6 separate regions of the Homo sapiens genome follow, and all the other regions are linked to region 2. The links are contacts of gene promoters, found by promoter capture Hi-C in blood cells and fetal thymus (Javierre and others, 2016). All regions are on one chromosome and are shown on one strand. The core of a region is centred on a gene start or on the middle of the fragment in contact, and the rest is flanking DNA. Distances in the headings are between cores, read along the strand shown. Region 1 has its middle 27 kb from the start of RASL11A. Region 2 holds the start of PDX1 (pancreatic and duodenal homeobox 1). Region 3 has its middle 42 kb from the start of GTF3A. Region 4 has its middle 120 kb from the start of USP12-AS1. Region 5 has its middle 63 kb from the start of GTF3A. Region 6 has its middle 170 kb from the start of USP12-AS1.

Region 1 (3,548 bases), core at 395-2,894, 620 kb after region 2:
GTACTCTCTCACACAGGTGCCAGCAAACTTAGGAAGTCAGAGAAAGGAGCAATGGGACCCAGTGGGAGGATTAGACACTGGTCTATGGAGAGCACAATGTTTGAGCTGGAAACTAATACAAGCGGTTACCTTTGGGTACATGGGGAGGAGCACAAATTGGGTGGATGAATACAGGAAGAGAAGTGAAGATTTTCACTTTATACCTTTTTACATTTTTAAAAATTTCTAACCATATGAAAACATACACATTTCAAAAAACAAAACTTGAAGTTTGAGCTACACCAGACATATTGGCTGTCGTCCCCCACGGAGAAAGTTCTGTGAAGGGCCCAGGTGAGGAAGGAAGAATGAGAGCCCAAAGCTCGTGGTGAGGACCTGGAAGGATGTCCTTGAGGTGGAAATGGCAGAGCCCGGTATCTACCTTGATGACAAAACCATGCCCTGCTCTCCTGGATGGCAATCCTGTCTGATAAAGCTTTGCTCAAATGTTGAAAGCTGCCATGGTGCAAAGGACACTTAACTGGGGAACGAATCCAAGTGAGTGATCTTTCTGAACACCAGGAAGCTGGCAGAGCTATTAACTAGATTGCTCACTGGTTTTCACGTGTGTCAAACTTCTCATTCTGCAAATGGGCTGTCCCTCTGGCCGGGAATAGGAAATTTGTGGCAATTCTCAGGAGGGAAGGGAACATTCTGTTTCAAACCACCAACCCTACTCTAAGTGGAAAATAATGTAAAACTTATTGTATTTGCAACATTACATTAAGAATGATGCAAAACTTACAAAAAACAGAATTTGGGGTATTTTTGTATAAATGGAACTTGAACACAATTCCATCTAGCAGTTGAACTGGTAAATAAGTTGACAATTTTACTTTCACAAACATTAACTGGAGAGACTACCACAGGAAGGATATACAAGGACCCGGCAAAAGTGAGTTGGCATTGAGGGAGTGAGTCCAGGTGACTGGAGTCAGAGCTTTCCCTTCCACTTTATTAAAAAGGAAAAGGAATTCAAAAGAAATAGGAGGAGGAATTCTGTGTATTAGAAAAAAACAAATGTCGCTGAAGAAGGCTAAACTATCGGGCTGCCACGTAATCCTGTTGACCACACCCCATAACTTGGCACTCACGCCTTCCCTGACTTCTAGGACAATGCTCTCTTCTGGTTCTTCCCTCACCTCTCTGATGTTCCTTCATAGCCCTGTCATAGGCTTTCTCTTCTTCACCCATCCATTAATTCCCACAGCCTTGCCACCCATCCTGGTTCTACCCTTGGTTCATCCCCCTTCTTGTCCTCCCACTACACACTTCATTTTGGACAAACTCATTCACTCCCAAAGGTTGATTCCCCAACTTTGCCCCAAGCTTCAAACAGGTGTACCCAAGTGCCCAGATACTTAATGCTTCTCAGTCTCAATATTCCCACTTCTGAATGCACCTAAAAGCCAAGGGAAGACCATTGGGTTGTGGGAGCAAAGGGAAAATTTTCCTTTGTTCTCTGAAGGTTTGCTGAAAAATCAACTGACAAAAGGTGATTAACAGGAAACAGGCATGTAAAATGTATTTACATGCATGTGTGCCCACAGGAGTCATACACAATATGAACTCAAAGAGGGCCGGATGGTTGAGGCCTAAGTACTCTCTTCATAGGGAAGAGACTTAAGGACCTGGGAGGTGGGAGGCAGGCATTAGGGAAGGTGAGGGATGGGGCTGCACAGGAACAAAAGGTGTCTTATGCAGACAAAATCTCCCAAGTCATCTCTTGGAGCTGGCCTCAAAGGAATAGATGAAAAATCTGTCTGGGTGTGTTGATAACACCCAGCCTCTTCTCTTTCAGTTTATTTTTCCTGGTTACTTGATGGGATCCCTAGGCAGGAGGTCTTAAAACAATTTCATATCCTTTGGAAAGAAGCTTTATTGGCCAGATAAGGAAATTTCAGAGAGCTCTTCTCTGCACTTGATGTAGGTAGGGGGAAGAGGACAAGGTAAGGTTACAGGGACCTTGATTCTTGGGCAGCTTCTAAGTCCTCTCCGCATATCAAAGTGCCAGACTTTGGGGTATTGCTTTCTGAACCCCAGTGGGGGCCTCACAGGGGTCGCTTTCTCCATGTGGGGCTTGGCAGGAAAAGGCTTAAATGGCTTGGGAGACAACAGAGCGTAGTTAGCCTCAGGTGGGGACCAAAATGTCGTGTTCACTACTGTACCTCCCCGTTGGCATAGCGTCAGACAGATGCTACAAATATTTGTTGAGTGGAAGGAAGAGAAAGAGGAAAGAAAGGAGAGAGAGATAGGGAGGATGGGAGGGAGGAAAGGAGAGAGAGAACAAGGAACAATCTTGATCAAATCCTAGCTGTTTACTAAATGTATGACCTTGAGCAAATAACTCAGCCTCCTTGTCCCTGGACCTCAATATCCTTATCCATAAAATGAGGCGCTCTCCCCAGGTCGTTGTGAGGATTGAATGAGACCATATATGTAAAATGCTTAGCAAAGGGCCTGATTCATAACAAGTGGCCCATAAGTGCTACTGTGATGACTATACTCTCCAGGGTCATACAGCCGGTGAGGAGCTGAGGCTACAAATATCCAAGGTCTTTCTCTCTGCTGTTGGAAGCTCCCCTGGCATACCCTGGGTTCTCACTGCCCTAAGAGCCCTTTCCCCTCTGGTGAGCACAAGTTCTGTACTGAAAACTGCCAGCCCCATTGTTTCCGTGAGCTTGAAAACCTCTTCGGAGCAGCAGGCTCTGATACATGCAAAGAAGGAGCAGACAGAACCATTAAGACACACTCAGCCTGAATCACTGTCCTCCTCAGCAGGGCTTTGCGGCAGCCTGAGGAGATACTGTTCTCAGCCACTGGACCAGATTGCTCAGGGAGCAGGAGGATGCAGGAAGCACAGGCCACCCGCTCCTGCTGTTACTGACCTAGTTTGGACCGCTTTGCTGGGAATGTGAAGCCAAACCAGATGGAGGGACACCAGGAACCGCTGATGCTAGCTGGAGGGATAGGAGCTCGGGCTCCAGGGAGCTCAGACTTCGGGGCATTCCAGGGCTTGATTTGGGGCACAGAGTGCTCACTTGGTGGGGGGGGATGGCAGTCGTCTTAGTCAGCCCGGCTGCTATAACAAAACACAACAGACCAGGCGGCTTACATAACAGTAGTTTCTTGCCATTCTGGTTACTGGGACATCCAAGCTCAAGGCTCTGGCAGATTCGATGTCTGGGGAGGGTCTTCCTCCTGTTTCCTGGATTATACCTCCTCACCGTGTCCTCACGGGGCAAAGAGAGGAAGCCAGCTCTCTGGTGTCCCTTCCTATAAGGACACCAATCCCGCTATGAGGGCCCCACCCTCAGGACCCCATCTAATTCTAATCACCTCTAAAGGCCCCACCTCCCAATACCATCACATTAGTGGGGAAGGTTTTGAATTATGAATTTTGGAAGGACACAATGGTTCTGTCCCTGTGGCAGGTAACAACCTTCCTGGCCTCCATGTGGTCTTGACCATCCTGACCACAGACAGAGGCCTCTCAGTGAGGGGCAGTT
Region 2 (3,576 bases), core at 199-2,698:
CTCGCGCGGGGCCGCAAAGGACCCGGGGGCTACCCCGTGCCTCCGGCTCCCGGCTCCGGGAAAGACCTTCTGTTCTCTGCCGGCGCGGAGGGCCGCAGGAACCAGGCCTCTCGCCTCCCCACCAGCTAGGCAGGGAGCGCCCATCTCCTGAAAAATTACTTCCTGGGAAGCGGTGCGGGGAGACAGCTTCAATTGCTTTCGGTTGGTGAAAAACGAATTCGCTTCTCAGATTGCTCTCCTAGCTGCCAGGCTCTGACGTTGAGAGGCCGGCTTTCAGCCTCGCGGTGAGCCCCCGCCTTGCCCCAGCCCCTTCCTCTTTACTCCTATCCTGTTTCCACAACCAGGGCAGCCGGACACTGCTGGGTTGGGTGCAGTTTCCTTTCCCTCCCTGCCTTTCTGCACCTACCTGGCGCCCCTAGATGCCTGCCCTTCCTTAACGAAGCGCGGGAAGTGAGGGGCTCCGGGGCTCCGAAGGCGATCTGGGGCCTGGGTCCGAGGCACCCATGTCCCTACTCGGCTTCCTCGATGTGCACTACCAAGGAGTCCTGGGTTCCCGGATCCCCTGCTGGAGGAGGATCTGTAGTGTCCGAAGCCCTGAGCAGGACTCAGCCTCGGCTCTCTAAGGATGGCGCTGGGAGCGCGGGCTCCTGGGGCGAAGATGGGCTCAGCGAACAGGGAAGGAAGGAGTGTACACTCCCAGGAGAGCTGGGTGGGAAAGATGCTTCAAACTGGACTAGAGAAGCACTGCTGTGAGGGATGGGCTCGGTAGCTCCCTGATGTAGTTTAGTCCGACCCGGGATAATCCAAGGCGCCGGGAACAGAGAGAAGGCTCCTGGGAGCGCTTGGAGGTAAGGCGGCCGGGTGAGAACCGGAAAGGAGAAAGGGGTGGGGAGCCAGGCTTACCTGCCCACTGGCCTTTCCACGCGTGAGCTTTGGTAGACTTCATCCATGGGAAAGGCAGCTGGACGCGGTTGGGCTCCTCCAGGACGCCCGGCTCGGCTCCCTCCGGGAAGGGCCCGGCGGGCGGGTGGGGGAGCGCGAGCTGAGCCGGGAGGTGGTGGTGAAGGTGCGCCACCGCGGGGTCGTCGGCGAGGGGGGGCACCTCGTACGGGGAGATGTCCGGGGGGCTGCCCTGCTCCAGCGCGCCCAGGGCGCCAGGGAACGGGTGCGGCGGCGGCGGCGGGGGCTGGCGGCCCATGTACAGGCACGCAGGGGGGCTGGCGCTGAACTCCGGCGCCGGGCCTCGCTGGAACGCGCATGGGTCCTTGTAAAGCTGCGTGGCCGCGTAGTACTGCTCCTCGCCGTTCATGGCTGCGGCCCGGGATTGGGCACCGGGAGCCGGGAGCCGGGAGCCGGGAGTCGGGAGCTGGAGCCGGGGATTTGGCACTGTGTGGCGTTCCCACTCCCGGCGCCACCCCTGCTCGCTTTGACAGCTCCGCACTGATCTCAGAGGGAACCCACAGCCAGCGCGGACCGGCGGGCCGGCCGCCGCACCATAGGCTCCGCGGGGCCCCACGTGGTTCAGCCGGGGGCCGTGATTGGCCTGGCTGGCCGCACTAAGAGGCTAGGCCCAGGTACCCGCGAGCACCTGCTTTTGTTCCAATTTTCTCTCTCAGCTGAGTTTGCTGCACACTCCTGAACGGGCAGCTGGCGGTGCTCCCCAAAATGGGCGCTCACGAAAACATTAGAACCACTCATTTATAGAAACATTTTCACCGTGGCTTAAAAGTTTCTATTTTCCTATATTTTTCTATTTTCTATTTTCCTATATTTTTTCTATTATATTTGATAATGGACATAGTGTGTTTGTTAATTGATGTAGTTTACAAGGAGACATGTTGAGTTTTTAATTTTTTATTTAACTGTTGCGGAATACGATAAAAAAAAAGTTTGCAGACCCAGCTCTCTAGGTCAGAAGCATTTGATTCTATTTTATTTATGAAGTTTGTTCACAGCCACAAAGATGTCGGTTAAAAAACACACGAAACTCTGGCATTCGTTGTGTGTTTTTACTTGTGGATGTGCTGCAAGTACTTCTGGGGTGTAAACGGTAACTTCTGAAGCATTCACAGAGACTTTTTTAAATTCTTTTTTTTAAAAAATTGAAGGGTATTACAAATTTGGGTTTTGGAAAATTGGGGCCCATTTGGCCAGCCCGGAACGTAGCTTCCCAATACAGCGAGGGGGAAAGACGCGGCCTTCCTCTTGGGGCTGCGAAGCAGGGGCAGGTGTTGGCACGGGGGTTCCAGACCCTTGACGACTCTCTACGGGCCGGGACCCTGGCGGAGTTTGCCGGCAGAGAACACTCACTCTCTTCTGCTTGCAATTGAAATAAGGCAAGCAGGAGAGGGGGAAGTGGAGGAAGAGTTACATATTTAGAAAAAGAAATAAAAACGCTGCATTTTCCATGATAACATCTGTGCTTGGCTTCAAACCATTCAGTAACTTCTGGGCATTCTGGGGTCCTGACTTAAACAGGGCCACTTTTTCTGCACCCACTGACGCGGATGGATGACCTCCGGGTGGCGGTGACGTCCAACCCCCTGCCTGGGCATGATCCGCTAGGCCTGGCGGCCTGACCAGCCTCTGACTGGATACTCCCGAAATGAGGACGTTTCTCGAAACGCCACCGTGGGTTTTAGAAAAACTAGACAGCTTTGCAGAAACGTCTCAGCAAGAGAGAGCTTGAACCACAAAGAACCAAGCCAGAGAAAAATCACTGCTCCGCCTTTCCTAAACAACGCACCAACATCCAGACCTTTGAGAGTCAATCTTAATGTATTTCTTTCTTCCTACTGGAAATATTTGTGTTTTAAGTGCGGATTGAGTGCTCTATTCTGAGGACTCTTTATTTTTATTAAAAGACAAAAAAGCCAGTCGGGAATGTGGACTTCTCTGCAGATTCCTTCTCTTGCGGGAGGCCGGTATAGTCTCAGCATTTGCTTCGATGTGTGAGAACTCATGTGTGTGGCTTCCTGGCCTGTGGCCTCATGTGTGTGGCTCTGATGTGTGGCTCCCTGGCTTGTAGATGCCCTTGCTGTCACCGAAGACAGGCCAAGGGAAGCACGGCGGCGGGCGGGGAGAGTTTCGGTGATTTCTTCAGGGAAAAGTGCCACCTGCAGTTTTGGTGGGGGCAGAGAGTGAAAGGCCGTGGGGCCCGGGCACCTAATCTCTGTGCGCCCGCGTCAATGAGTCCATTGTCTGCGGCCGCGGAGAACTCTACCCTATCACCCTGGCCGCGAGTGACCACATCGATCAGGAGGGCAGGCTGGAGGGGGTTGCCTGGCCGCGGCGTGTTGACCCTTGGAGATAATCTGCCGAGTCGCCGAGGGTTGACTTGGCGACGCGGTTATGAGCGGACGGCAAGCTCCGCTCAGGACAAAGATCGGCCACTTTTCCCCTCCCCCTCCTTTTCCTCCCCCTTCCCCTCCTCCCTGGGCACCCCTACACCCACTCTGGACTCAGTCTGCGCCCCACTCTCCCTCCCCTGCTCCCTGCCTCGCCTGCCACCCCCGGAGTGTTTACTTTGCACTTCTCAACTAATTGCACATTTCTGTAAATTGGTCTCCATTTCGA
Region 3 (3,297 bases), core at 646-3,145, 540 kb after region 2:
TAAATAACTTGTCCAATTACTAAGTTGCAGAGATGGGATTCAAAACTGACTCAAATCTGAAAGTTCATGCCTTTTCCCTGCACTGTGTTTTCTCCTCTCATAAAACAGATCCTTCAGGACCCGGGGGGCACGATCTCCATGTACTGGCTTCTCTCAGGATCTTCCGAGCTGGCTGAGCTGGCTCTCCTGATGCTGAAACGTAAAAGTTCCCCTGTCCCCCTCGCAAGGCTTGCGATAGAGGGTGCGCCTCGCCTTTTCAATGCCGCACTGCTCAAACCTCTAGAGGCGCATACAGACGGGCAGGCTGTGGGGCTCCAACCCTACAGCAGTGGCTAGGGGTGAATGTTTACAGCTCCTGAAGCCTCAGTGGGCATGTGTTACACGGTACTCTTTTAAGAGTTTAGCTGTCTGCAGGCAGCTTGTGTTAGCTCAGTTAGATCCCCTTCCATATTATCACAAGGACAGAAGGATTTCTGTATCCTGGGGTTTCCTGCCTTGGTGTACTGGAAGAACCCGATCACACGTGAGCTTGGAGAATGAGTGCAAGGCTTTATTGAGTAAAAGTACCTCTCGTCAAACGGGGGAGCCAGAAGGGAGATGGTTTTCCTTGTGGAGCTGGGCCACCTGGCGGCCTAGGCTCTCCTCAGACTGCCCCGTCCAAACTCCGCCTCCTTCCGCGGGTCAATGGCCTGCCAGCATCTGTCTGAGTGCTCTTCTGCCGGCATGCTCCCCTTGATGTCTCTCGATGTCCAGCCGCTTGTCTTCTTTCATCGATTTGTTTTTCTCCACGTACAGCGGCTTGTGTGTCTGCCTGCTAGGGTCTCGGGTTTTTATAGGTCCAGGATAAGGGTGTGGAAGGTCGGCCAGGGTGGTCTTGGGAAATGCAACAAAAATGCCTGTCCTCACCAAGGTCCATGGGGGTGGAGCCCTAGCCAGGGACCACGCCCTCCTCTACCCTGCACTTCCCTTACCCCCTTCTGTATCATTTAAAGGGACCACGCTCTTCCCTTCCCAGCACCCCCATATCAAGGGTTGGTCCTCCTCCAGCAGCTATGTATCTGAGAGGCTCCTGATGCAATGGCTCAGCATCACAGTTGAAGGACACACACTCCTGCCTTAGAGCAATGGGGAGACCGGTTCCCACAGGAACCGGTTCAGCAAAGGCAGCAAGATGCCAGCCATCAGAGATAAAGGCTGCTGCCACCTATTGAACCTCACAGTGCACAGTAAGGACAGTCTCCAGGACTTCTCCCCCAGGGAGCTGAGCTTTGGGAGAGTAGAGAATTTGCATCAATCACTGAAAGAGACAGAGGGGCCCGTGCCTCTTACACCAGTAAATGGTATATATTACCAAATGCTGGAGGGCGCGAAATGTTTCCTAACTGTGTGATTAGGAATGTGATTCCCACCAGCGCAATTGATCAGGCCACTATGCTACTTAGAATCCTATTTGGGTTTTGTTGTTGTTATTAACGAAGCAGGAATGCAGAGATTATAAATATGATTATTTTACAAATAAGGAAATGGTCCTAGGGAGGTCACCAGAGTGGCCAGGCTCAGACTAGAATGTGTTTGAAATCAATTTATAAAAAATGAAGTCATTTTAAAGATGAAACTGGCATCTTTGCTTATTTTCTGAACTGTTCTCCTAATGAAGAAAACATATTGGGTATTACAGAACAAAGCTCATCTCTTTAACTGGCCAGGCTGATCCAAGAATTGAATACATGAACGACAGAAGGGACATTTTCATGGGGACTTTTCTCTTTAAGAGGCCCCCACGTAGTTGCCCCACTTCCACAAATGTTGCAAGCTAAAGAGCCATACAAATGTCTTAAGGGAGAATAGGGGCCTGATCCGTCTTGTGCCTCTGACTACTCATTTTCCTTATTAGTATAGGTGTGACCTCAGTGTGAATTTTTGCAGAAAAGTCTGGCAACATTTCCTGCTGAGCACAAACAACAAATTACGTGGGGAGGACATCAGCACGATATTCTTCCAAGGACCATGTTAGTCTTATTTGGTACTGCCATTCTCCAAAGGTATCGTGTTGCATGGACACATATATTCTTGGGGAGCATTAATTATTTTAAAAACATGAGTATATGCCAGCTGACATGTCCTGAGAATATTATTGCTAGTTATCCCCAAACTGCCCTACTTTCAGGACAGAGACTGTGTCCTGTACCTCTGTGGCCCCTGCCCTGGTTGTCTGCCCTACCGGAAGTGCTCGTTAAACTTACGGAATGACTGACTGATTGTGTGATGTTTATGTATTCAGCATTGCTAAACAGAGCGGAGGACAGAAATGGTGGTAGGTGTGGGGGGCTCAGGGCTGGGGACATGTCAGATATAACCATATTACTCCCTCGGGCCCTAACCCTAACTTTCCCAGCCTGATAAGTGGGGACTAAGAGGCATGTCTGTGAGAAACAACTGTCCTCACACCCTCTTATTAGTGTAACTCCCTCAAGTCCATTATGAAGGAATTTGTAGAGAAGCAGAGAAGCTGACTGTAAGCTCTGCGGCCCCAGGCAATTAATCTCTAGATGGTGCAGACCCGGGCTCCTGCCCCGTGCCCCCAGGTTGGAATGTGGGATTGCCCCTCGACTGCAGGTGTGGGTGGGGAGGGCCGCCCCTCGTCGGGCTTGAGTCTGTGATGTTGGAGCCGCCCGGCACTAAGAGGAAGCCCATTCTCCAAGCCCAGGCCAGGCCAGGCCGCACCGGCCCCGCTCCCGCATTGATCCTGGCCAAACGAACCCCCCAGCACCTGGGTCTCCCTTGCTGTAAACACTTTTATTTCACCCCTCGGTTTATGGCCTCCCCTTCCAAAGGATCACAACTTGTTTAAACCGGCTCTAAACAAAGGGCTGTCACGATTACAGACCTGCTGCTGGTTTTATGGTGGGCTTCCTTTGTCTAATTCTCTCCCACTCCCTTCCTTCCTCCCCACACCCCACGGCCAGGTACCCAGGCCTTTTAAGAGAGGCCTTCTAGCCAGCTGCTGGGAAGGGAGGGTGAGGGTGCGCTTCCGACTCTCACATCTGGTACCCCTCAGCTGGGGCTGGTTGCCCCCACAGGAGGGGGGGATAGGACAGGTAGGAATCCCAATGTTCCTGGGGTCAGGCTACAGCACGTCCCCCGCCCCCAGGAACGAGAAGAGGGTCTGAGGGTGTCCTCTGGGGGTTCACCTACCACACTGCCTTATAGGGGCCGGGTCCAGCGGGGCTGGGATAAAGAAGGATACCACAGGTACTGTTCTGTTCCTTCAGCCATCCAGACAAAGCCCACACGCCA
Region 4 (3,583 bases), core at 619-3,118, 910 kb after region 2:
CCCAAAGTGTGGTCCACAGCTCACATCAGTCGTATCATCAGTTGTACTGGCCAATTATGTTATTAATTAGATTCTGCATTTCTAACAAACTCGTGCAAAATCTCAGGCCCCACCCCTGGTCTTCCCAATCAGAGTCTTTACTTCATCAAGATTCCTGGTGATTCGCGTGCACACTGAAGTTTGAAAAGCACCAGTTTGAGTGACATTTAGCTGGGCGTTCTGTTTTTTGCATTGGGGAGCACCTTAATATAATTGATGTGACTTGCTTTGGATCTACAGACTAAGCTTTGTAAATATTTGGCGTAGGTATAGTAGTTTTCTTGTTATGCAGTATCCTTTTGTCTTGTTCCTTTGGATGGTCAGTTCTCTCCTTCCTCTCTTTTTCATGTGGCTAACGCATGTCTCCTTCAAGACTGAGGTAAGGCATCACCTCCATCAGGAAGCCTCCCTGTCCCCTCCAGGTTGAATCAGGCATGCTGTGTCACATTTTATTTGCATCATTACTTATTTGACTCTTCAGCTAGCACCCAAGTGCAGTGAGGAAAATCTATTTTTGCTCTTTGTATCCTCACTGTCCAGCCCATGTAAAGAGCTGAACGAGTGTTTTTAGAAGACAGAATGAATGTCGCTTTGCCAACCTGCTCCTTGCTGCCGTGGCCTCCCCCACGAGGGCTCCAGGCATCGGAGGCACTGATGTGGCGGGAAGCCAGGTGTGGGATCAGGGAATTAGAACGCCTGCTGTCTCGGCAGCTGTCTCTCCCTCCGTCCCAGCTCCTCGCCCTCCAGAGAGCACACATTTCAGAAGCAGCTGCACGGTCCCCTCCCCACCTCCTCCTATCTCCTCTCTCTTTCCCATGAATAAATGTCACAAGCCCCACAACAGCAGAGGAGGGAATCTGTGGCAAAGAGAAGACCCCACAACTACAAGTCCCTGGAGCTGGAAGCCCCGCACCAGCCTTCTCCATAACCGGAGCCCACCTGTGAATGCCCCCAGAGCAGCCCAGGCGCTGGCCATGGGGTGAGGGGCAGGGAGGAGTGGTAAGCAAGCCTAAGGAGGGCGGGGCTGGGCGGCACTCAGCGCTCGGCACTCAGCGCTCGGCACTCAGCACTCGGCACTCGGCTGGTTAAACCAACGGAGACTATGTGCAGTTAATGGCACTTTCTCATTAAGCAGTTATTAAAAATGGGGTAGTTCTTCCTTGCTAGGTGCTATGCCATCCGTTTCTATGCACTGAGATCTTCAGTGAAACCTGGTTGGCTTCAGCCTGGAAAAGCATGGGCCGTTGCTGCCGGGAGCACTCCCAGGGCAGGTGCGGGAGCCAGCTGTCCAGGTCTGCGCCTGGGATGCTGCTAGGGGAGGCAGAGGTGACAAGAAAGGTCCTCGTTTCCCAGCAGGTGCGGCACGGCGGCTTTCCTCCTTAGCAGGAGCACTCCAGGCGTCTCTGGTGTGCACACATGCTGGGGTGTGCTTGGGAAATCAATTCCTGAGCTGAAAGGCGGCCTCTCCAGCTGGTGCCGCCCCGGGAGGCGGCGCGCTGCTAATGGCTTGGTGTGACTTCCCGCAGAGGAAAGTAGGGAGGCCCCGGGGGGTGGGGGTGGGGGGAAAGAGGAGGCCTGTCCCCAGGGGGGCCCACAGGTAACATTCTTTTGGGAGACAGTGAAAATTTGCAAATGTTAGCTGAGCAAGCCTCTTTAACCAGGAGCCAGGCTCTGTGATGGGCCCTTGGGATTCAGATCTGGATGACCTGTTCCTGCCCTCTCCTTGTCCAGTGGGGGAGATAGACAGACACACAGCCACATTCAATCTGCAACAGAGGCAAGCGCCGGGCCTGAGGGGAGCAAAGAACCCAGACCGAGGGGCAGAAGCACATCCCCAGGGAAGGAGCAGCTCAGCTGTTTCTCAGAAGGACGCAGGTGGAAGGGGGGACACTGGCACTCACTCAGTGCCATGTGCCAAGCACTGTGCTGGGCACTTCCCCCTCCTCTTGTCTCATGACCTCCTCTATAGAAGGGGAACCAAGGTTCAGAGAGGGTACCTAGCTGGCCTGCCATGGGAGCCGCCCGAGCCTCCGCTGTGCCACTCTGCCCACCTTTTGCCAGGGCCGAAGGAAAGATGCTCTAGGCTGTGTGAACTATGTTTTCTAATCTCCGTATTGGATGCTTTGACATCTGGGGACTTGCTGACCTGGAAGGGACTGCTCCTACCAGGGTTAGCTGATTCCTAGAGAAAGCAAATGATGCGGCCAGGAGCTAGTGTGAGCTTTCCCATTCCAGGGCCTTAGTCCCCTGCCCTGATCACCCCAGAGCCAGGCACCGAGCAGCTGGGGACAGCGCCTGTGCCCTAGAGCTCACTGCAATCACTCAAGCCAGCCAATCCTGAGCCTGCTCACTCCCCCTCACCCATTCCTTCCCATGGAAACCACAGGAAAGGCTCTTGGCCCACGTATTCCCTGCTGCCTCTGCCACCAGGCAACCCCGGTGCTTCCTGTGTGGCGTGGCGTGCCCAATCTCCACCCCGCCGGGATCTGTCACAGCTATCTTTTCAGTAGCAGTTGTCTCCTGATCTATTGGCTTCACCATACCTGAAAAATAATATGACCTATATTTTAAAACACAAGCAGAGGGAGTTGCTGGTGTGGCTCCAACAGGAGCGAGTCGTGTACATCCTGTGAGCTGTTTGTGAGGTGGGGACCTGGGAGGGTGGGCAGAGGCCAGTGGGGTCCCTGGATCAGCCTTGCATCCTGAAGGTGCTTAGGGGGCTCCTGAGGATGTGAAGCAGGTTTGTGTTATAGAGCAATCCACCAGGAACAACACACACAGATGAGAGAGAGAGAGAGAGAGAGAGAGAGAGAGAGAGAGAGAGAGAGATTGACAGAGACAGAGAGACAAAGAGAGACAGGGCCCCTTTATCGTAATCTCAGTGGGACAAGAAGAGATGGAACTGAGGCACGATTGGTGGGAATGGGGCAGAGGAGACAGGTCTGCCTTGAGGAGACACGATGGTGCAGGTGAGGTGCTGGTTTAATGAGGAGGTGGGGTGATGGGGAGGAGGCGGAGTTTGGTGAGCCAGTGCATTGGTGGTGGCGGCTCACTGAGATGGGACCAGCTGGGCTGACTGCCTTGGAACACCCCATTCTCATGATGGGAGCCACAAGACTTTCAGATCTTTGAATCCAGGGCTCAGAAAAGCAGATTACAGTAGAGGATTCCAGTTCTGTGTGAGACTTGTCCTTTTATATAACAGTGCTAACCTCATTTATCTTTTGTAATTGGTTATTGTTAAACAACCCTCAAAAATTTAACCAAAGGCCTAACTGCAAACAACCACGTGATAAAGAACAAGCACCTTTTATATGTCAAGATCTCCCCTTAGGGAATTCAAAGATGCTGTTTTTCGGTGTCCCTTAAGAAAAGTTACCACCTCCCATGTCAAAGGACCTGGGAAAGCTTGGGTTTAGAAGTGGAATAACTGTGATGAAGCATTTAAAAATGGGTTTTGATTTGAAATCTGAGATTGATCGGGCAGGCATCCAATATTCTGGAATCACAAACATTCAAAGTTCAGACAGGCCAAAAATGACAG
Region 5 (3,587 bases), core at 310-2,809, 560 kb after region 2:
TAGAGAATTCTATGATCCTGAGCAGATGTGGGAGTGCATTAAACTGTCACTGGCCTGTGTTTAAGAGTTGTGGACAATCACAGTATATAATAACAACCTTTTTTGGTTTGATTTTGTTTTAAAGTTAACCCCAGAAACACTGAAAGCTAGAAACGCAGGCTTATGAAGGCAGCTGAATCCAGTAAATGTCATCAGGCCTTTGGGAAATGTTTGTCCCTGCATCTCTTTAGTTCCTCCAGGCCTGCTCCCCACACATCATAGACAGCAGGACCACCCCTGAGAGCCTAGCCTGGCCACCTGGCATGGCCTCATGCCTGCAGCGAGGACATCTAGGGAAGACCACACTGCAGGCCACTGGCTCTGGCCAGGAGAATGTCCTTAAACCACACCTGCACCCCGCTAGGTACAGTTTATTGTGGGAATGGAGATCTGACCTGGGGTTGGTGGGGGATGGCGGGGGTAAAGGACAGAGGTGCAGCCCCTCTGTCCACCTTCCCCTGATCCCTGTCGGTTGGCACAGTAGGGCACAGTTCACCTTGCAGGTGGAAATGTCCACTGCTCCGAGCTGAGGAGGGAAGCCAGGACACACGGAAGGAGTGATGGGAGATTTATGAGCTGGCTTAAGACGGGGTTCTTGGGGACAGGCGTGGTGGGGCAGGCCTGCCTTCCCTCCCTCTGCTGGCCTGGAGAAGAGGTTCCATCAAGCTGCACCCACCCCTCGGTCTCCCTGGGACGTCTGATCAGTGAGTGACTTGTGCACACTTTCGATTATCCCACGCAGGACACAATCGTCAGCCACCGGGGCCCTGAGCAAAAGCCCTGCTCTTGGCAACCAGCCTTCCTAGAAGGCCAACGAACTGCGCCACCCAAAGGACATCTAGGTGAGGCAGCGATTCTTCAAGGAAGATGTCAGATGGGGCCGGAGGCAAGGCCCCCCGCCTCTGCAGAGGGGCGTCCAAGTCCCCAAACAGCAGCGGCGACAGGGAGAGAGGGGACAGTCCAACCTAAGAGGTCCAGGACAGACCTCTGTGCAGGCAGCGACCGACCTGTGAGCGCCGCTCTGGGCGCGGGAGCGAGGCGAGGCGGAGCCACGGGTCAGGGCGGACCCCGGGGAGCTCTGGACTCTGAGAGCCAACGGAAAAAGGGGTCACAAACCACACGCACGTCCCCCAAAAGAAAACAAAACCGGCTAACCAGGCTCATTAAAAGGTGAAGCCCCAGAGCCAGGAAGTAGCTGATTACCTTCAGGTCGTTGAGTAGCAGGATGTGAAGGACCCCAGAGAGCGCATTGGCTCCAGCTTTGTTTGGGGACTAGCTTCGCGGCCACTCCTAGGCGCGCCTGCGGCCAGCGGGTCATGCCTTGGGGCCTGGCGCCATCTGCTGGCCATCGCTGTTCCTAACCCACTGCCCTCCCTACTCCTCACTTAGTTTCCTGTGAGACCTGTATGCAACAACAGGGAGACAGGGAGGCTTGTATCCGCGGCTCACCTACCTGCCTTTGGGCTCTTTTAGTCTCCAAAGCAGCGAAGATTTCCTAAGAAGTGCCCATACTGAAACGCCCTTCCTCTAGGGTCGCTTGAGCCCAGGAGATCGAGGTTGATCGAGGTTGCAGGAAGCTATGATCGGGCCACTGCACTCCAGCCTGGGTAACATAGCAAGACCCCTTCTCTACACACACACACACACACACACACACACACACACACACACACACACACACACACACGACAGAGGCCGGACGAGATGGCTCACACCTGTAATCCCAGCACTTTGAGAGGCCGAGGAGGGCGGATCACTTGAGGTCGGGAGTTCAAGACCAGCCTGGCCAACACGGTGAAACCCTGTCTCTACTAGAAATACAAAAATTAGTTGGGCGTGGTGGCGGGTGCCTGTAGTCCCAGAAGCTCAGGCAGGAGAATCACTTGAACCCAGAGGCGGAGGTTGCAGTGAGCCGAGTTCGCACCACTGCACTCCAGCCTGGGTGATAGAGCGAGACTCCCTCTCAAAAAAAAAAAAACTGAATTTCAGAAATAAATAAATAAAAATAATAAATAAAACATGCTTCCTCTCCTCAGCCCGCACCTGGGTTATGGGGGCAGGGTGCGAGCACACAAACACACACACAACTTCATAGTGGAGGGAACCGACCAGCAATGGCTGACTAACTTGGAAAAGGTAATTGGAGAAGGATATGAATCTCTTCCCAAAACAATCTAAACCCAGCCTCATTGGACAGCTGCTCAGTGAGCCAAATAATAAAGTCAGTGAGCACCTCGAAAACATGCCAATCTATATGTTCAACCATCTCACTGCTTCCTGCAAAATAACGGCTTAAAGGGGGACACAGGCATCTTTGTCATTCCTCTCATTCCCTGGTCCCTGGTCCAGCACACGATGGGATGGGCAGCTGTGCTGGCAGAGGAACCCAGTTCTTCTTCTTCTTTTTTTTTTTTTTTTTTTTTTGACACGGTCTCAGTCGCCCAGGCTGGAGTGCAGTAGCATGATTTCGGCTCACTGCAACTTCCGTCTCCTGGGTTCAAGCGATTCTCCTGCCTCAGTCTCCCAAGTAGCTGGGACTACAGGTGCCCGTCACCAAGTCCAGATAATTTTCGTATTTTTAGTACAGATGGGGTTTCACTCTGTTGCCCAGTCTGGTCTCGAACTCCTGACCTCCGGTGATCCACCCGCCTCAGCTTCCCAAAGTGCTGGGGTTATAGGAGTGAGCCACTGCGCCTGGCCGGAACCCAGTTCTTAAAGATGGAATTAGTTGATTCATTCAACAAATAAGTACTGAGTGCCTCCGAGGTGCAGGCACTATTTGTTGCCAAGAAAGCAGAGAACAAACATGGAATGTTAATGATGCATGCATGGTAGCTGGGAGAGGCAGATGAGAAATAAGGAGACGAGAAATCAGCTACACTGATGAGTGTAGCTGTTACAAGGGAGATGAAATGTCTGGTGATGATTTTATAGTTGAGAGGGCCCAGTGAAAAGGGATCCCTTAGAGTGGCTCTGAATGACTCTGAAAAGCCAGCTTGGGTGCAGAGTGAGCATTCCAAGGAGGACCCCTGAGGCAAGAACAAGGTTAGGTTTGAATGGGACACCCTGCTGTGTGTCTGCAGGAAGAGGAGGAAAGACATGAGTTGAGCATCTTACCTGTGCAGGTATCATTCTAGAACATGAGGTATTTTTTATGAGAGAAACTGGCACTTCCATACAATAGGAGGGAGTACCAGATGTGTAAGTAAGTAACTGAAATGCAATTTCAAAACAGTATCTTCCCCTGCAGAAAAGAATGTTTTCCCAAGATGAAAATCTCATTAGGACAAGAATGAACATTATGTTTCCAGTGTTTTATGATAGAGAAAGTAAATTATTATGATTATTTTTATTTATTTATTTATTTACTTATTTATTTTGAGACGGGGTCTCTGTTGCCTAGGCTGGAGTGCAGTGGTGAGATCTTGGCTCACTGCAACCTCCGCCTCTTAGGTTTGCTTCAGTGATTCTCCTGCCCCAACCTCCCGAGTAGCTGGGATTACATGTGTGTGCCACCACGCCTGGCTAATTTTTGTATTTTTAGTAGA
Region 6 (3,627 bases), core at 983-3,482, 970 kb after region 2:
TGGTGCAAGGGAGGCCTGCCCTCCAGCCTAGATGATCAAAGCATGTGTGGCCATAGGCGACATCCACATCAAGAAAGGAGGTCTTTTCCTAGAGCTACCAAATCACCATATGGGCTCGAGGCGGCCCTGTAGGCTGAGCCAGTCCCAGAACCTCCAAGTGACATTGGCCCTGGGGAGGTCCTAGGGGCTGAGAGGGAGGCACCACTGCAGGCTCCTTCCTCCAGAACCAGCAAAGGTCTCTGAGGACAGCCCCTCAGTCCCAGAGGGAACGTCTGTTTGAAAACTGCATTTTTGCCTTAGGGCGCACTATGGTCTTAGTACCAAGTAACTCAAGTCAGGAAGCATCAATGATTTTGACACTGTTTTCCAGATAGAGAAAGTCTAAACTGAACACCGTCAAGCGGTATTAGGGAAAATGGACAGGGCTGACAGCAAAAGGTTAGTGGATTAGAAAGAAATAGAGTGACTTCTGTGAAGGCACTGGTTCTTTTCAGGTGTACTGGGCTCAAAGCCATAATATTGGCCCTAAGATCCCCTCTATGTGGCTGCCTAGCTGGCTGGAGACAGTCCAAGGGCAACTGGTCCAGCTGCTCCTTTATCCTATCCCTTGGAAAGTGTAGCAGGCTTTTTCCTATGAGGTCCTCTGGAAAACGGTCTCTTTGCAAGAGAAGCCCACACAGGTTGCTAGAAGCAGGTGAGTCGGGTGGCCCGGGGTCAGGGTGGTCCAGCACCCTTTCCTGTGGAAGAGCATCAAAGGCCCCCAGCCCTGTCCTTGGCCAAGGCAGCAGGCCATCAGGAGGGAGCCTGCTCACGCCCCACGCTCCCCGCTACTCATGGTCAGGTCCATGTTGTAGAAGGCCATGAAGGGGACTTTTATGACCCATAGAATTGTTTCCGAAACATTATCAGCTCTGATTATTGGCTACAAATTTTCATCTGAAATCAGAGAGTCATAGGCTTTTACAGTGCAGTAAAATGCATATTAGCTGGTTCTGGAGTTGTCTCACCTCCCATTTACTCCACCGTTTTATCAATATTGCCATAATTTGACACTTGCCAATAGAGGAAGATTGTAAAGTGTCCATAGATCCTGTAAACCGTACTAAATAGAGATTAGGATTACTACTAAGTTTAAACTCTAGTAAAAGATAATTAAGTTGATGGATGTGGCTGTAAATCTCCCTTTTATCAAGTGCTTGCTCTCACACGAGCAGCGTCTGGCCTTATTACCTTACAGCATCATTAATGCCCCGCAGTATCTGAGCCTTCAGTGGATGCTGAGTGAGGAGACAATGAGATGTGCCACTGGGCCAAAGAAATCTGTGTGGGAGGCCCCCCTCCCTTCCCTTCTCCTTAAGGCAGGGCACAGCCAGGGTGGGAGTCTGCATGCTGGGACCACCTGGTGCCCAGGGGCAGGAACAGGGACAGGTAGCCCCAGGACTGCATTCCCAGCCCATCACCCATTCTGGTCCCCAGATCTCTCTAGGTCCGGGGCCCTGGGTGCCTAAAGGCTGCTGTTTCTGGTGCTGTGGAAACCAACCCTTTTTTCTAGATGCCCTGGTGGGGCCTTTGCTTTCTGCAGACAGTCGCACCTGTTGTCCAATCATGCTGCTTCTGGAGAAAATATAACTGCCAAACCACAATTCAGCTGATTCACCTCAAGCACTGACGTGTTTCTAAAAGATGGCTGTGCTCGGTGCCACACTGCAAGGGGGCACCCTGGGTGGTAGCCTGTATCTGAGCAGCTCCATCCCAGCAAAATGACTCGCTTCACACACGAGGATCTACAGGGCCCTTGTCCGCCTTTGACCAAGGTGGGAGTTGGCACGAGGGCTGAGCAGAGAGGGTTGGCCCTTGGACAGTGGGGCCATGGCACCTCCTCTGTGAAGATGCACCTCTGGGGCTGCTGTGCTAAGGAATAGCCAGCGCGGTGTCCTTGTCCCCACTCCACCCTTCCCACGTGTCCACAGTTGATCCGAGCCTCTGTCAATGGCAAAACCAAACAGAGCCAAGGTGAGCTGCCTTAGGCCTGGAATGGACTCCTAGTGAGGGGCAGACTCCAGAACATTGAGTCCATGTGTTTGCCAAAAGCTGGCTCATTCTCCATCTGGCCCCTTCTCTCCAGGGCCACGGGGAAGCATGGACATTCTGCTTGTTGCCGATCCATTTCCCCTGCATGGCGGTGCTGACAACCAGATCCCAGGTCCCAGGGCAGGGAGGAGATGGTAGCAGCAGGGGTGTCGTGGGCTGGTTCAGGACTGGTCTGTGCCACTGGGACTCTAGGTCCTAACTCAGTGTCAGGTGGAGGCTTTTTTGGGCTCTAGTCTTTGCAGACACCCCGAAGGCCCTATCTGGCTTCAACAACGGGTTTACTCAGATAACATCAACCCCTTTTGAATTCCGGTTGACCAGCAACCCATTATTTATGGGATGGAGGGCCTGGAAGCCAATGGCCTCCGGAGCACCAGCTCCTGACCTTGGCTGTGATCTTGGATGGGGCCTCTGGGTAACTGGGCTCAGGGCGTTCGGGCTGGCCAAGTTCTCAGGCCATTGGGTGAGCTGTGCTCTTTGGCTGGCCTTGACTATAGAAACTGGAACTTGGAGAACAAGGAAATAGGCCTACAGCAGAGTCATCTGGGAGAGACTGGATTTAGCTACAGCAGATAAACACACTTTTTTTTCTTTTTATTGCCCAAAGCTAAGCGATATGTACCTTGGTTGGAATTAGCAGGCTGAAAGTTCAAGAGATAAGCAGCTTCTGTTGGCGTGAGTGATCAGACTCATGGGGGCTTATTCAAGAGGCCCTGCCTTGGGCCTTGTCACCTTTGGAACATTTAGACCGCTGGGCTGGCACGGGGCTGGTCGCCCCTGCCTGTTTCACAATCCCTAGCAACAGGGAGCATGAGCAGGAGCTGGCACAACCTGTCACCTGGGCTTCACCTGTGTGTGCCGTGGTGCTGCGGTCTTTATTCCCGATTCGAGTTCTGCAGGGCCACTAGAGGCAGAGATGGCAAAGATTTAGGGTCCTGGGCCAGGCCTTCCTGGAACCCACAGCCTGGCAGCAGGAAACCCCAGGTGGAGCTTAGCAGCAGATGTGCACATCGGCCTCTCTGCACCTGGCCACGGGAGAAAAGTAGCCTCTGCTGAAACCAAGTTATTTGAACATTTGCAGTTGGCTGGTGTGCTTGTTAAAAGTGTGTTTTGGCTGAGCGCAGTGGTTCCTGTCGGTAATCCCAGCACTTTGGGAAGCTGAGGTGGGCGAATCATGAGGTCAAGAGATCGAGACCATCCTGGCCAACATGGTGAAACTCCTCTCTACTAAAAACACAAACATTAGCTGGGCATGGTGGCACACGCCTGTAGTCCCAGCTACTCGGGAGCCTGAAGCAGAAGGATCGCTTGAACCCGGGAGGCGGAGTTTGCACTGAGCCGAGATCGCGCCACTGCGCTCCAGCCTCGTGACAGAGCGAGACTCTGTCTCAACAACAACAACAACAACAAAGTGTGTTTCCTGGGGCCCTTCCGCAGGCCTCCCCAGTCAGGGAGTGTGCAGCAGCGTTCACGCGCTCAGATTGGGGAACTACTGGCTGGGCCCCTGATACCTGACCCTGTGTGTGAAAACCAAGA

Evidence for each region. The method cuts DNA at HindIII sites, captures the fragments that hold promoters and counts their contacts. A CHiCAGO score of 5 or more calls a contact.
Region 1: a fragment that was not itself captured here is called in contact with the fragment with the promoter of PDX1 in region 2 in 1 of 17 cell types (M2 macrophages); the score reaches 5.4 in M2 macrophages.
Region 3: a contact is called between a fragment that was not itself captured here and the fragment with the promoter of PDX1 in region 2, in 1 of 17 cell types (M2 macrophages). The highest score is 6.2, in M2 macrophages.
Region 4: a fragment that was not itself captured here is called in contact with the fragment with the promoter of PDX1 in region 2 in 1 of 17 cell types (M0 macrophages); the score reaches 5.3 in M0 macrophages.
Region 5: a fragment that was not itself captured here is called in contact with the fragment with the promoter of PDX1 in region 2 in 4 of 17 cell types (total B cells, naive B cells, M2 macrophages and 1 more); the score reaches 8.5 in total B cells.
Region 6: a contact is called between a fragment that was not itself captured here and the fragment with the promoter of PDX1 in region 2, in 4 of 17 cell types (activated CD4 T cells, non-activated CD4 T cells, M1 macrophages and 1 more). The highest score is 6.9, in activated CD4 T cells.

What each region holds. Positions count from the first base shown.
Region 1 is chr13:27,296,041-27,299,588 of GRCh38, reverse strand. No RefSeq gene overlaps it. Among named protein-coding and RNA genes, the nearest start is that of RASL11A, 27 kb to the right of the region's middle. The HindIII fragment of the contact is 547 bases long and covers 1,371-1,917 here.
Region 2 is chr13:27,917,872-27,921,447 of GRCh38, reverse strand. PDX1 (pancreatic and duodenal homeobox 1) reads right to left here and starts at 1,448. Exons shown (of 2, transcript NM_000209.4): 1 at 904-1,448. The coding sequence starts at 1,309. The HindIII fragment of the contact is 8,603 bases long and covers 1-3,576 here.
Region 3 is chr13:27,381,183-27,384,479 of GRCh38, reverse strand. No RefSeq gene overlaps it. Among named protein-coding and RNA genes, the nearest start is that of GTF3A, 42 kb to the left of the region's middle. RefSeq lists an enhancer at 2,861-3,297. The HindIII fragment of the contact is 3,986 bases long and covers 1-3,297 here.
Region 4 is chr13:27,004,542-27,008,124 of GRCh38, reverse strand. No RefSeq gene overlaps it. Among named protein-coding and RNA genes, the nearest start is that of USP12-AS1, 120 kb to the left of the region's middle. The HindIII fragment of the contact is 3,162 bases long and covers 288-3,449 here.
Region 5 is chr13:27,359,945-27,363,531 of GRCh38, reverse strand. No RefSeq gene overlaps it. Among named protein-coding and RNA genes, the nearest start is that of GTF3A, 63 kb to the left of the region's middle. RefSeq lists an enhancer at 677-1,178. The HindIII fragment of the contact is 5,719 bases long and covers 1-3,587 here.
Region 6 is chr13:26,950,978-26,954,604 of GRCh38, reverse strand. No RefSeq gene overlaps it. Among named protein-coding and RNA genes, the nearest start is that of USP12-AS1, 170 kb to the left of the region's middle. The HindIII fragment of the contact is 4,808 bases long and covers 1-3,627 here.